2 separate regions of the Homo sapiens genome follow, and region 2 is linked to region 1. Evidence: promoter capture Hi-C in 16 types of primary human blood cells and fetal thymus (Javierre and others, 2016). All regions are on one chromosome and are shown on one strand. Each heading gives the region's core, a stretch centred on a gene start or on the middle of the fragment in contact. The rest is flanking DNA. Distances are from core to core; before and after follow the strand shown. Region 1 holds the start of ZFR (zinc finger RNA binding protein). Region 2 has its middle 54 kb from the start of GOLPH3.

Region 1 (2,930 bases), core at 131-2,630:
GGTGCATTACAATGACTCAGTACAATCTCACTTGCATCTTCTTCCCTCCCCACCATTCCCCGCAGGGGAAAGACCCCCGCAAGGAGAATGACAGGCCCACCTGGGGCCTAAACTCCATAGCTCAAACAAGGCTGGGCACTCATTTATCAGCACTAGAAACTTCGCACATCTTTTCCAGTCTAAGAACTACACAATTTACAGGTGGTTGGTATGTGAATCTCTCTCCTTGCAGGAAAAACTAAAGGAACCCGATGAACACAGTGACACCCGCAGTTTGTCAGCAGGACTCGCTAGCGATGGAGCGTCTGGGGAAGAAGCCCCACGGCGGAGGAAAAGGTACCCGAGACAACGACACGTTATCTGGGCTCCGGGGGTTGAAGCACCAGGCGACGACGCAGAGAGGCGTCGCACGAGAAGCCAGTGGACCTGCGACACGGCACTCCCCGTGAGGTCCCTTCAGCCACCCTCTCCATCCCCCAAGTGGGAAGAAGATGGGAGGTGGGGGCTGGACGCGCGGAGGCGGGGACTGGGGGGCCTGCCGGGCGGCGGTGGCGGCTCCGCTCGGCGGCCGCAGGAGGCCATTTTAGTTAAGGGGCCGCTGAAGGGCCCTGAGGCCTCCACGTCCCTACACCTCCGCCGTCTCTACCTCCCCCCTACTGGGGGCCGCTCCCCGCCGCGGGCCGGGCCGGGCCGGGCAAGGCGGGGCGGGGCGGGGCGGGGCGGGAGAGGCCGCCGGGCTGGGCCGGGCCAGGCCTGCAGCGGGCCGGGGCTCTGGGATGGCTGGGGACGGGCGCGGGGGCGTCGCATCGACAGGATCCGGACCGAGGGGAGAGCAAGGGGCGAACAGAGAGAAGGCAGGATGCCGTTACCTATATTGGGCCGCAGCCGCCGCCGCCGCCGCCCCGCTGTGGGTGAATCCAAAGTAGTTGCCGGTCGCCATTTTGGCATCTTCCCCCAGCCGGCTGGGCACTGCGGCGGGCACGAAGAGTCGGGTCCCATGGCGGGACAAGAGACACAGAGGAGCCGAGACGCCGAGGGAGGGCAGGGAGAGAAAGAGAGAGGCGCCGTGAGAGCAGCCCTGGCGGGGCCCAGGCCGCGGCCGCGCCGCCTCCCCCTCCCGCCTCGCACTCCCTCACTCACTCGCACGCCCGGGTGGCGGCCGCCGCCTCCTCCCCGGAGCCTGCCCCAACCCCCGCGGCTCCCCGCTGCCCGGGGCCAGGGAGGGGGCCGGGCAGAGGCCTCGCGGGCCACATTAGACTCACCATAGGTGAAAGAAACTACAGGGCATATGGGAATCATGGGCTCGGGCTGCTGCTGCTGAACTCTGAACTCTCACCCGCTGCCTCCCTCCTCTGCCCCGCTCCTCCTCAGCGGAGAACAGACCGCCGCCTCCGACCGCACTGCGCAGGCGCGCCTGTGCTCGGCATCCTGGGAGCTGTAGTCCCCGCCGTCTTCGCGGCTCCCCCGGGCGCGTGCCGGGGCCTCGGCGGTGCGGGCGCGGGGAAGCCCGCGGGGGAAGAGGGGCCTGGCCTTCTCCGAAGTGGTGGTGACGCCGCGCGGCCGCGGGGCGACGGGGGCGTGTGCCAGAAGCGCCTCGCCTGTCCTCTGGGGAGTCGGGGAGCGTGACCAGAGAGAGTGACGTCTGTTCGCCTTTTTCTTTGCTTTCCACTGGCTTCCTTAACTTTTGCATGTGCACTTATTCCCTGCCTCCCTGTCTTCCTCGCTCATTAATTTTTCATTGGAATTCGAGCTGGGCAATTTAGGATTTTTCCTTATTTCCTGCTTTCCCGCAGCTTTTCCCCAACCTCTGAAGTGCGGAGGGAGGGAGAAGGAGAGGAGAGAAATAGAAAAAGGATGGAGAGTGCTTTTCTGTTGGACTAAAAGCACACCCTAAACATCCCTCCCGGACATACCTCTTGCTATACCCTTTCCTCGACCTGCACCCACTCCCTGAGCCATCCGGCGTATATCGGTCACCCAGCAGGGTGTCAGGCAGTGTTGTAGGTGCTGGAGATACGGCAGAGAACAAAACAAAGTCCCTGTTCCCGTGGAGTTTACGTTCTAGGAGCGGGTATATGTCAGCCAACAGCCGGTAGCCAAAACACAGAAATTCTGTCTGATGGTGACTGGAGCTTCAAGCATAAATAAAGCAGAGTAAGGAAAATAAGGGTAAGGGAGGTGCTATTTCATGTAGAGTGTGGTTAGGGAGACCACTTGAAGGAAGGAAGGACAGGCCTGGGAGATGCCTGCAGGAAGAGCAGCAAGTGGAAGGGTCCAGATGAAGGAATGAATGTTCAAGAGCAAGAAGATCAGTCTGGCTGGAGTCAAGTGAGAGGGAGACCAGATCACGTGCCAGATCTTTAGTGGTAAGGACAGAACAGTACTTGCCCCCATGTAAGCATTTCCTCTTTCCCTCTGTTTCCTCGCTTTCTTCCCTTTAGTTTCTCAGTTCGTTTTCAACCATTCTCTTTCCTCTTCCAGTCCCTCTTCTGATCGTCTAGTTTCTCTGGCCTTATGTTTCGTGTCTTCCATCAAGTACATATGTACTGCCTGCATTTCACCTCTTCCTTACCTTCTCCATGCCCATCCCCCAGACTCCCTGCTCCTCATCTCTCCTCATTGTTGGATATGAACATTAAAAGGAAATGCTGGCCGGGCGCGGTGGCTCACGCCTGTAATCCCAACACTTTGGGCGGCCGAGGCGGGTGGATCACGAGGTGAGGTCAGTGGCCAACATGGTGAAACCCCGTCTCAAAAAAAAAGAAAAAAAAAAAAAGCCGGGCGTGGTGGCGGGCGCCTGTAGTCCCAGCCACTCAGAAGGCTGAGGCAGGAGAATCGCTTGAACCCTGGAAGCAGAGGTTGCAGTGAGCCGAGATCGCGCCCCTGGACTCCAGCCTGAGCGACAGAGCGAGACTCCGTCTTAAAAAAAA
Region 2 (2,930 bases), core at 236-2,735, 320 kb before region 1:
CTCACTGCAACCTCCACCTCCCGGGTTCTAGCAATTCTCCTGCCTCAGCCTTCCAAGTAGCTGGAATTACAGGCACCCACCACCACACCCGGCTAATTTTTGTATTTTCAGTAGAGATGGGGTTTTACCACGTTGGTCAGGCTGGTCTTGAACTCCTGACCTGAGGTGATCCACTCACCTCGGCCTCCCAAAGTGCTGGGATTACAGGCGTAAGCCACCACACCCAGCCCCATCCCTGCCACTTTAACTTCCCGCACTGAAACTCTGTGAGGTACTTTTCATAAACACATACATACACCACACAAACACACATAAGATTTTCCCCCAGAAGCAATGACCAAGGCAGTAGTAACAAGTATTCTGAAAGCCCAAATTACGGTCTCGAAGTACCATTTCATGCTAAAAGAAACATGGCTTGTTGGAAAAATAGATGATTCCAGATACAGGGTAGGAAATATACAAAATGAACCTGAAACATCTGAGCCATACCAGGAAGTTATCAAAGACTACTAAAACTATCAAAAGGACTCCAGATCCTTGAAGAGAGTTCCACTGGCCAAAGATAGGGCATTTTGAGCATTAATAGGGCTAATAACTGTAGACCAAAACACATAAAAGAATGATTATTCCATTACACTAAGTGAAATAAGGCACAAAAAAGACAAAAAAAAAAAGATCTCGCTTATATGTGTAATCTAAAAAAGCCAATCTCATAGAAAAAGAGTAGAAAAATGGTTACTAGAAACTGACGGGAAGGGGAGAGATAGGGAAACAAACGTTGTTCAAAGGATACAAAGTCTCAGACTAGAGGAATCAAGTTTTAGTGATCTATTGCATTGCATGGTGACAACAGTTAATAATGTATTGTGTTTCAAAATTGCTAAAAAGGACTATTTTTAGTATTCTTACCACAAAAATATAAGTTGGTAAGGTGATGGTTATTTTAATAAGCTTGACTGAATCTCCAATGTGTACAAAGACTAAAACATTACATTATACCCATAAATATACACAATTATTATTTGTCAATTTAAACAGAATGTGTTTCCATAAGTTCATAATACTTTAAAAATTAAAGTTATTTTTGGAGGGTGCCATGGAATCAGCTGTATTTTGAAAATAGGTAAATAAACTGTAAGAATTATTCTACCTTCCCTCTATGAATTATAGTAAAACGTAATGTAGATAACACGTCTCTTTATAGAAATATTCTAGCTAAAAAAAAAAAATAATAATGAGGGCCAGGCGCCGTGGCTCAAGCCTGTAATCCCAGCACTTTGGGAGGCTGAGGCAGGAGGATCACAAGGTCAGGAGTTTGAGACCAGCCTGGCCAATATGGTGAAACCCTGTCTCTACTAAAAACACAAAAATAGAAAAATAACCGGGCATGGTGGCAGGCGCCCGTAATCCCAGCTACTCGGGAGGCTGAGGCATAAGAATTGCTTGAACCCAGGAGGCGGAGGTTGTATTGAGCCAGAGATCACGCCACTGCACTCCAATCTGGGCGACACAGTGAGACTCTGACTCAAAAAAAAAAGAAAAAGAAATAATTGCCGGGTGCGGTGGCTCACGCCTGTAATCCCAGTAATCCCAGCATTTTGGGAGGCCGAGGCGGGCAGATCACAAGGTCAGGAGATCGAGACCATCCTAACATGGTGAAACCCCATCTCTACTAAAAATACCAAAAAATTAGCCGGGCATGGTGGCAGGCACCTGTAGTCCCAGCTACTCGGGAGGCTGAGGCAGGAGAATGGCGTGAATCTGGGAGGCAGGGAGGCAGAGCTTGCAGTGAGCTGAGATCGGGCCACTGCACTCCAGCCTGGGCAACAGAGCGAGATTCCATCTCAAAAAAAAAAAAAAAAAAAGAATTATTAAAATATCACATTGCAACCCCAATAAATAAGAATTGAAAAGCAAGGCTGCTAACATCACAAAAGGAAAATATGAGACATTATGTGCCTCCTGGTGGAAGCATACACCACCACTGATTAGTGTTGCCTACACAAACAAACCTGAATCTAAGCTTCTAGAGCCAATTACCAATTCTTGGGAAATGCAGTGTAGAAGTCAAACACCTTAAATCACACCTTGTGGAAACCATCAACAAAATCCAAACCTTGGAAAACTCTGCAGGACAAATGATCCAATTTCATCAACAAATATTTTGCAAAGGAAAAACAAGAGAGAGATGGGGGAAGAACCTACAGATTCAAAAAAAACTTAAAAGACATATCAAATGAAACAAAACAATACAATTAAAGATTCACACTGGGTCAGGACAGTACTTACTCTTATGAAGACTGTAATTGGGAGAAAGACTTGAACAGCTTCAGGGTATAGCTGGCAAGGTTCTATCTCCTGACCTGGGTAATGGCTGTAAACATGGGTGCCTTAAATTAATTAATGTAAATATTTGAGATTTTCCATTTATATTTTAATCATAAAAACTTTTAATGAAATGCTTATATACATATTCTTAACCTAGACATTTCGACTTTTTCCATTTTTAAATTTGATCATACCCTCCCAAAGTTAATATATATCAAATCTGACCACCAGACATCTCTTTAGAAGAAGGATCTCCACAAATTGCATGCTCAAGCACTGCACCTTACACTTTTCTGAATGTTAAAGAAAGCAAAAGCAAAACTTACCATCTGCCAGCTCCCAAGACTGGGAAAACAACTGCATCATAGGCTTAAGTCCTCGTGAATCAGTACATAAAAAGATCAATGCCCTTCAGAAAAATGAATAAAGAACACGAACAGGTAATTCACAGGAAAAATACAAATTACCAAAAGGCAGTAAATGATAACCCCTCAATAATGAACATAGACTAGGAGTGATGATATCCTCCACAGAGGGGTCCCCAACCCCCAGGCCACGGACCAGTAATGGTGGTCTGTTAAGAACCAAGCCACACAGCAGAA

What was found. The method cuts DNA at HindIII sites, captures the fragments that hold promoters and counts their contacts. A CHiCAGO score of 5 or more calls a contact.
Region 2: a fragment that was not itself captured here is called in contact with the fragment with the promoter of ZFR in region 1 in 9 of 17 cell types (activated CD4 T cells, M2 macrophages, monocytes and 6 more); the score reaches 8.5 in activated CD4 T cells.

What each region holds. Positions count from the first base shown.
Region 1 is chr5:32,443,360-32,446,289 of GRCh38, forward strand. It overlaps ZFR (zinc finger RNA binding protein), which reads right to left and starts at 1,381. Exons shown (of 20, transcript NM_016107.5): 1 at 1,263-1,381; 2 at 870-969. The coding sequence starts at 1,299. RefSeq lists silencers at 424-763, 994-1,683 and an enhancer at 475-1,032. The HindIII fragment of the contact is 7,512 bases long and covers 1-2,930 here.
Region 2 is chr5:32,119,206-32,122,135 of GRCh38, forward strand. No RefSeq gene overlaps it. Among named protein-coding and RNA genes, the nearest start is that of GOLPH3, 54 kb to the right of the region's middle. The HindIII fragment of the contact is 1,072 bases long and covers 950-2,021 here.